3 separate regions of the Homo sapiens genome follow, and all the other regions are linked to region 2. Evidence: promoter capture Hi-C in human tissues and cell types (Jung and others, 2019). All regions are on one chromosome and are shown on one strand. Each heading gives the region's core, a stretch centred on a gene start or on the middle of the fragment in contact. The rest is flanking DNA. Distances are from core to core; before and after follow the strand shown.

The links. The method cuts DNA at HindIII sites, captures the fragments that hold promoters and counts their contacts. A contact is called where the count stands out against the background at its distance.
Region 1: a fragment that was not itself captured here is called in contact with the fragment with the promoter of HECW1 in region 2 in 3 of the 25 tissues and cell types used here (dorsolateral prefrontal cortex, mesendoderm cells and thymus).
Region 3: a contact is called between a fragment that was not itself captured here and the fragment with the promoter of HECW1 in region 2, in 2 of the 25 tissues and cell types used here (IMR-90 fibroblasts and small bowel).

Annotation. Positions count from the first base shown.
Region 1 is chr7:43,178,918-43,181,639 of GRCh38, forward strand. All of the region lies in intron 2 of HECW1 (HECT, C2 and WW domain containing E3 ubiquitin protein ligase 1), which reads left to right. Among named protein-coding and RNA genes, the nearest start is that of MIR3943, 29 kb to the left of the region's middle. The HindIII fragment of the contact is 5,574 bases long and covers 1-2,722 here.
Region 2 is chr7:43,111,267-43,113,966 of GRCh38, forward strand. HECW1 (HECT, C2 and WW domain containing E3 ubiquitin protein ligase 1) reads left to right here and starts at 1,381. Exons shown (of 30, transcript NM_015052.5): 1 at 1,381-1,671. The HindIII fragment of the contact is 15,211 bases long and covers 1-2,700 here.
Region 3 is chr7:43,000,069-43,002,768 of GRCh38, forward strand. No RefSeq gene overlaps it. Among named protein-coding and RNA genes, the nearest start is that of MRPL32, 69 kb to the left of the region's middle. The HindIII fragment of the contact is 4,487 bases long and covers 1-2,700 here.

The sequences.
Region 1 (2,722 bases), core at 76-2,575, 68 kb after region 2:
CACTTCCTGAAAATATCTTTTTTATGGAGCATGATACCTGATTCATATTCACCAAGCACTGAAAATAATATTGTCTAGAGAAAAAAGCCTTGGAGAATATCAACTACTTTCTTAGAAGTGCCAGGCCCTTCACAAGTAACACCGAGGAAAAAGAAAGCATTTTCTCCAGAATAATTCATCTCCTTTCCTCCGCAGTGAGAAAACATCAAAGTTGTTGACACTCAAAAGGCACAGGTTCTTGCTTTCCGCAGAAAATAATAAATGCAAAATAGCCAAACCAAGATGCTGGAGAGAGTGGCTGACAGCAGCACCCAAGGGCTCCAACTTGAATCGAGCTGTATTATTTGTGCGGCATCAAGGTGAAGCTGAAGTCTACAGCATTGAGAGCAAAGGAGACTGTAATATTAATAGAAGCCCCTTACTCCCAAGTCTGAGAGTTCCAAGTGTGGTAAAAATGGCAACCTTTGCTTGAATTATGCCATGCTTCAGTAGAAGTTCTTTGTGCTCAAGAGCTAGGTGTGGTACTAAAATTGAATGGCTTTATATTTTACTGGTACCTGAACGTCTTAACATGGCTATGTTCACCCATTAAAAGAAATACCATTGGTTATTTGGGAGAATTGTATATTTGCTAAGTTTGTTGTTGTTGTTGTTGTTGTTGTTGTCGTTTTTGCTGAGACAGCAAATACATCTAAATGCAAGGTTTATACTTTTTAGTTTTAAGAACAAATGACTACAAAGAAGTGTTTTAAATATATTTAGTATTGCTTATTGTCTGTATTAAATACTGCAGCATAGAATATGACTGCCTTAATTTATACCTATGGAAAGTTAGATAACATCCAAATTTTCCCAATAGTAGCCCATACCTCAGTGTTATATAAAAGAGCCTAAGGGAGAGTTCATTTTTGAAAACATGATTGAGATTTATTTATCACCATGTAAATCGACCCTGAAAGGTGCATTTACTAGCGCAGTAATTTTTATAGGTAAAATGAATGAAGGTTCAATTTGACCAGGGATGTTATACAGGAACCTTTGCTTTATCTGTGGAGGGTAAAATAATCAGACATCTCCAGCAACCTTAGATCTGACACCCTGATCCTGTGGCCCCCAAATCAGTAGAGGAGTTTCACAACTGCACTTGCCAGTTTACGTTATCTGCCCTTAGCAGAGTTGGTAACATTCCCTTTTATGCAAGATGCACTTTGCAGAGCCTAAAAGAACAAAAGATGGGGACATCACCAACTTATAGCAGAGGTTATGTGACTGTTTGAGCCTGCTGGTAATGAATGTTTGCCCAGGATTACTTTCACTGCACTGTGGCTCCTGGGACAAGCTGTGTAGGTAGAGTCCTCTAGCTCCCACTCCTTTTAATGGTTGGAGGGTGCACAAAAAACTTCAGGATTTTGAGTAATCAAATTGACTTATATTTTTATTGCTTTCTAAGTTTTATTTTATTATTTTATTTTTTTATTTGTATTTTTATTTTTTTTGAGATGGAGTCTTGCTCTGTCGCCCAGGCTGGAGTGCAGTGGTGCGATCTCGGCTCACTGCAAGCTCCACCCACTGGGTTCACGCCATTCTCCTGCCTCAGCCTCCTGAGTAGCTGGGACTACAGGTGCCCGCCACCACGCCTGGCTAATTTTTTGTATTTTTAGTAGAGACGGGGTTTCACCGTGTTAGCCAGGATGGTCTCGACCTCCTGACCTCGTGATCCACCCGCCTTGGCCTCCCAAAGTGCTGGGATTACGGGCGTGAGCCACCGCGCCTGGCCAGTTTTATTTTATTTTTAATCGACACATAATAATTATACATGTTTATGAAGTACAATGTGATGTCTCAGTACATGTGCACATTGTTTAATGAACAAATCAGGGTAATTAGCAAATCCATCACCTCAAACATATATAATTTCTTTGTAGCAAGAATATTTAGAATCCTCTCTTGTAACTATTTTGAAATATGCAATACATTATTGCTAACCATAGTCACCCTACTGTGCAATAGAATAGCTGAACTTATTCCTCCTATCTAACTGTAACTTTGTAACACATTGGCCGACCTCTCCTCATTCCTCTCTCTCCCCTAACCTCCTCAGCCTGTGATAACCACTATTCTACTCTCTTCTTCTATGAGATCAACTTTTTAAGATTCCACATATGAGGGAGTTCATGTGGTATTTGTCTTTCTGTGCCTGGCTTATTTCACTTAACATAATGTCCTCCAGGTTCATCCATGTTGTGGCAAATGACACCATTTCATTCTTTTTTATGGCTGAATAGTATTTCATTGTGTATATATACCATACTTTATCCATTCATGTCTTGATGGATACTTAGGTTGTTTCCATGGCTTGGCTGTTGTGAATACTGCTGCAATAAATAAGGGAGTGCTGATCTCTTGGACGTATTGATTTCATTTCCTTTGGATAAATATTCAGCAGTGGGATTGCTGGATCATATAGTAGTTCTATTTTAAATTTTTTGAGGAACCTCAACACTGTTTTCCATAATGGCTGTACAAATTTACACTTCCACCAACATTGCATAAGGGTTTCTTTTTCTCCACACCCCACCAGCACTTGTTTTCTTTTATCTTTTTGATAATAGCCATTCTAACTGGAGTGAGACAGTATCTCATTTTGATTTGCATTTCTCTGATGATTGGTGATGTTGAGTATTTTTTTACATACTTGTTGACTATTTGTATTCTTTTGAGA
Region 2 (2,700 bases), core at 131-2,630:
TGCTGTTGCTGTTTACTGCCACAGCCTGTTCAAGTCTATTCTCGGAGAGTTTTCTTCATATAGGAGTTGGTACTAATCCAAGTGTAAAATCCGGAGAAATGTGTGCACAGCTTTCTGTGTGGATTCTTAGCTAAGGTTTGAAAATGGTCTGCTTTGAGCTCATCTGACCAGAAGATCTGACTGCTGTCAGGCAAAGAAAAGGGTCTGTCAGGAAAGGACTGGGCACCCCAAGTGGAATACGGAAAGAGAAGGGCTGTGCCTCCTTGCAGAAAAGAGCACAGCTGGTGAAGCTGCCTTCACATCGTCCAAAGTTTCCAGTTCTGGAAAGTTCCAGTTGTAAGAGTGAAATCAATGCCAAGAGGCAGGTCAGTGGAATGAGAGGCACTGAGAAACTAGCCACTGTGGGTGGAAGGGGAAGGAGATTTGGTTTTGACAAGTCCGTACTCAGGTCTTCAGTAAGGAGTTCTGAAGTCAGGGTGAAGCCTTTGTTTATTCTAGAGGAGGCGGAGTTTGGGGTCTGGGAAAGAAGATAACTTCTCAGAAAGTGAAAAAAAGCTCATGTAGAGGATGCTGGGCAAAATAATGGGAAGGAATAAATCAGCATTGTAGAGAATGTGGTTGGATCATAAAATCCCAGGCTATAGAGATTATGTGCTCAAAGCCTCTGCATTTTATGTGAACACACACAAACCAAATGTCGACCAGATGCACAAAAATGTGCATACATGGAGCAGCCAACCACCAATAGTAACCAGCATTTCACTTCTCTTTGCATCTCAGTTGGCTGTACCTGGAAGGGTCTAGACTTTGCCTCCTTCTCGTTCTAGCATTCTGACACTGTGTGCAGTGTAATAGAAAACGCGGTTTGGGAGCTAGGTTTGCCCAACAATAGATATTCTGGGGTGATTTTCATCCTTTGCATTTGTCATTACGATGTTTTGTGTGCTTGTGCAAATACAGGACGGTTCCTGAAATGTGTCTCTGAGCGTTCTTAACTGTGTGTAAGGTAAGCGAGGAAAGTGTCTAAGACAGAGGCCAAGAACACCTGTCACAGGGTACCCGCCTAGAGTGTCTGTACCGCATCCTTTCTGCTACACTGTTTGCACACACACAAAAGGGCCGAGGAGCCAGGGTTGGTGTTGGATATGCCCAGTACGCGTGCTGGGTGTTGGAAGGATGGGGCCGGCGGTAACAAGAATCGATATATATTTACCGCGGGGGCGGGGGTGGGGGTGCGCGGAGGCTGCAGGGCGGGGCAGCGCTAATGAGAGCAAGCCCGGCTTGTGGTTGGTTCTGGAGTCTGGTACCCACAGAGGAGCAGGCAGGGAGGGAGGGGATGCAAGCGGGAGGATAAAGCGATGAAGTGTGCTGCGTTACCGCGCATCAGGCGCTGTTGTTGGAGCCGGAACACCGTGCGACTCTGACCGAACCGGCCCCCTCCTCGCGCACACACTCGCCGAGCCGCGCGCGCCCCTCCGCCGTGACAGTGGCCGTGGCCTCCGCTCTCTCGGGGCACCCGGCAGCCAGAGCGCAGCGAGAGCGGGCGGTCGCCAGGGTCCCCTCCCCAGCCAGTCCCAGGCGCCCGGTGCACTATGCGGGGCACGTGCGCCCCCCAGCTCTAATCTGCGCGCTGACAGGAGCATGATCTGTGCCCAGGCCAGGGCTGCCAAGGTAAGCGGGCGTAGCGCGGGGACACTGTCTGCCGCCCCTTCCCCCCCGCCCTTCTCTGGGCGGCTTCCCCGCCGCACGCGAGGCCCCGGCAGCGCCCTCCCTTCTCGGGGCCGAGATCCACCCTCCTCCCCACCCTCTCGCTTCTCCCGCGAGGTTCAATTGTCAGCCTGGGTCGCGCCGCCGCCCGGTCCGGGCCGGCATCCCCGGGTGGCGACCCCGGCTTGGGTACTGCAGGCGCACCCGGCCCTCCTGCGGGGTACGGAGAGAAACAAAGAAGCCCCCAAGCGGGTTCGCAGCGCCTCCCCCGCCCCTCAGCGCCCTCCCAGTGGCGAGGAGGTGTCAGGGGAGGGGGCGGAGAGACCTACGTAATCCCCCTTCCCAGCCCACACCCACCCCTTGTGAACCAAAGCTCTGGATTTGCGCTTCGCCTTGGGCTCGCTTTTGAACAATTGTGTCCCATGCAATGCCCGTGGTTAGCCCAGAGAGCGCCCAGAGCCTCCGCACGGGCTCGCCGGTGCTCGCTCGAGGGGCGCGTGGCCAGGTCCGGCCCTTGCTCCCATGGACGGGTGCAGGAGGGGAGGAGGCGCTGTGTGGGTGCTCCCCCAGCGCCTCCCTGTTACCGGCCGGCTGCGCCGCTCAGCCGGGCCTGCCACCTGAGTTTTAGCGGGAGCAGTCATGTCGCCTACCGTATTGCGACTTGCAGACAGGCAGGGAGGGAGCTGCCGGGGCGGGGAGGGGGGGGGAATGCGTCCGGTCCATTTTTGGCTGGAGGTGCGCTTCCTGCTACCCCCACGTTCCCGGGCGGTGACAATGCAGCAAAATCCGAGGGCTCAAACAATGTGGCCCCTCCATCCCCGGCTCCAGGGCATTCTGATTGCTCTGCCGCTTTGACGTCCCGGCCACTTGGCTGATTTTCAGAGCCATGATGCGCGGTGTCTCTGTCTTGCACACAGAGGCTGGGCACCATAACTTCTTCCCTGCCGAATTTCAGCGCGTAGGGGGAGCTGGCAGGGACACAGGCTGCAGAGA
Region 3 (2,700 bases), core at 62-2,561, 110 kb before region 2:
GGAAATAGGGAGGCCCAAGAAGAGGGAGAGAGATGGAGGAATTGCCAACCTGTGGAGGAGTCAAACACACACATTTATTGAATAAGTTTTTCATCTTATATGGGTGTGGTTCATAGCATTCCATTCCAAAACAATTACCATAGTAACATCAAAGATCACTGACTACAGATCATCATAACAGATATAATAATAATGAAAAATTTGAATATTTTGAGCATTACCAAAATGTGACACAGAGACACAAAGTGAGCTCACACTGTTGGAAAAATGGCACCAATAGACTTGCTGAACACAGGGTTGCCACAAACCTTCATTTGGTAAAAAAAGGCAATATCTGCATAGTGCAATAAAGTGAAGCATGCCTGTGCTTGCTCTCTTTTTCAATTTGATAAGAAACTCCCACCAGGAGTTTATCAATTTCATTCATCTTTTAAAAATGAATTTTTGTTCATTAATAAAAATAAAAATAAGACAAATCAGTCTATGGAATTAGAAGTCAGGCTAGTAGTTTCATTGTGAGAGTCATAGTATCAGGCAGGGATGAGGGTGGGGCACCAGGAATGCTTGGGGTGCTCTTTTTCTTGATCTGGATGTTGCTTACAAAAATGTTCACTTTGTGAAAATTTGTTGAGCTATATGCTAAGTGATGTGTGACTTTTTTAGTACGTATGATACACTTCAGTAAAAATCAATTTGAAAGACAACTGTTGGGTTGTCAATTCTATTTGTATATTTCCTTTCTATTTCATTTATTTTTGTTCTTGTCTTTATTATTCACTTTCTTCTACTTTGGTATTTTATTGTTATTTTTCTGATTTATTGAGATGGATATTTATGCTTTTTAGCATTGAAAGCTAAAATACTTCTTTTTATACACAGCTTTAGGTATATCTCACAAGTTTTGATATGGAATATTTCATTATCATTTAGCTTGAAATATTTTCTAATTTCCATTTTTCTTTTTCATTTCAATTTAATTTTAATTTTGGTTTAACTTTAATTTCTTACTGCTTTTCTTTTCACCTTTAGATGACTTATAAACATTTTCTTAACTTTAAAACATAAGATGTTTTATGAACTATATTTCTCTCTTTATTGCATTGTGGTCAGAGAAGATCTTGTATGCTTTTAATCTTTTGTAATTGGTAGAGACTTGCTTAATGATTCAGTATATGATCAATATTTATAAGTGGTCCATTTACTTTTGAAAATAGTGCTCATTCTGCAGCTGTTGGATGCAGCATTCTGTATATGTCTTTTAGGTCTAATTTGTAATTATGTTACTGAAACCTAAATCCTTACTGATATTTTGCCTATTTGTTTTATTATTTGCTACTAATTGTGTATTTATCCTTATATTTGTCAAATTTTTTATTGTATGTAAGACTATGCTATTAAATGTATACACATTTAGAATTATTGTATCATCTGTGGTAATGAAATATTTTACAATTTTGATGTGTCTCTTCCCTTACTTAGTAATTTTTGTTGCCTTAAAATCCACTTTAATATTAATATTGCTATTTCAACTTTTTTTTTTTTTTGGTGTTTGTATGATACATTTTTTAAATTCCGCTATTATTTAATTAATTGAGACAGGGTCTCACTCTGTTGCCCAAGCTGGAGTGCAGTGGCACAATCAAGGCTCACTGCAGCCTCAATCTCTCAGGCTCAAGCGATCCTCCTTCCTCAGCCTTCCCAGTGGCTGAGACTACAGGCATGCACCACCATGCCCAGCTAATTTTTAATTTTTTTCTCCCAATCTTGCCCAGGTTGGTCTTGAACTCCTTCACTCAAGCAATCCTCCTGCCTTGGCTTCCCAAAGTGTCAATCCTTTTGTTTTCAATCTTTCTGTATCTTTGTTTAAGATAAGTCTTTCTTAAATTGCATATAGGTTTTTATCAGTCTTATAAGTTTTTTATTTTGAGTTATAATTCTTCTGTTTTGTAATTCTATTGAATACTATATGTGTATATTTTAATATGAAGTTATAATTTTACTACATAATTTCTAATTTTTTATTCTATACTCTCTTTTCTTAACTTTTTTGAATTAAAAAAATTATTCTTTTTTTGGCAGTTTAGAAGATATGTACTCTTTAATATTTTTCAGCAGTTTATTCCTGAGATCACAGCATGCATCTGACTCACCAGAGTTTGACGTTACTTTGCACTTCTACTTTCTTCCTGGGCAATGCAAGGATATTGGAACATTTTAATTAAGTTTAATCACTTCCTGTTATATAATTTTAGTTCTAACAACAACATAAACCTTATAAAAATAATATACAGTCAATATTCATTTTGATTAATCTATATTTCATTTTTATTCTTTCCTGTTTATCAAACTTTTTATCTGGGATAAGGTCTCTTCTGCTTGAAATATATCCTATAGTTTTCCTTGACGATCAGGTCTGCTAGTGAATTACTTCAGGTTTTGTTTGCTGGAAAATATATTTAATTCACCATTTTTTTCTAGAATATATTTGCTGGGAACTAGAAGTCAGAACACTGAAGATATTATGCCATTGATTTTTGGCTTTTTTTTTTTTGAGACAATGTCACTCTATTGCCCGGCTGGAATGCAGTGGTGCAATCACAGCTCACTGCAGCATCAACTTCCTGAGCTCAAGCAATCCTCCTGCCTCAGCCTCCCTGGTACCTGGGACTACAGGCACACACCACCATGCACAACTAATTA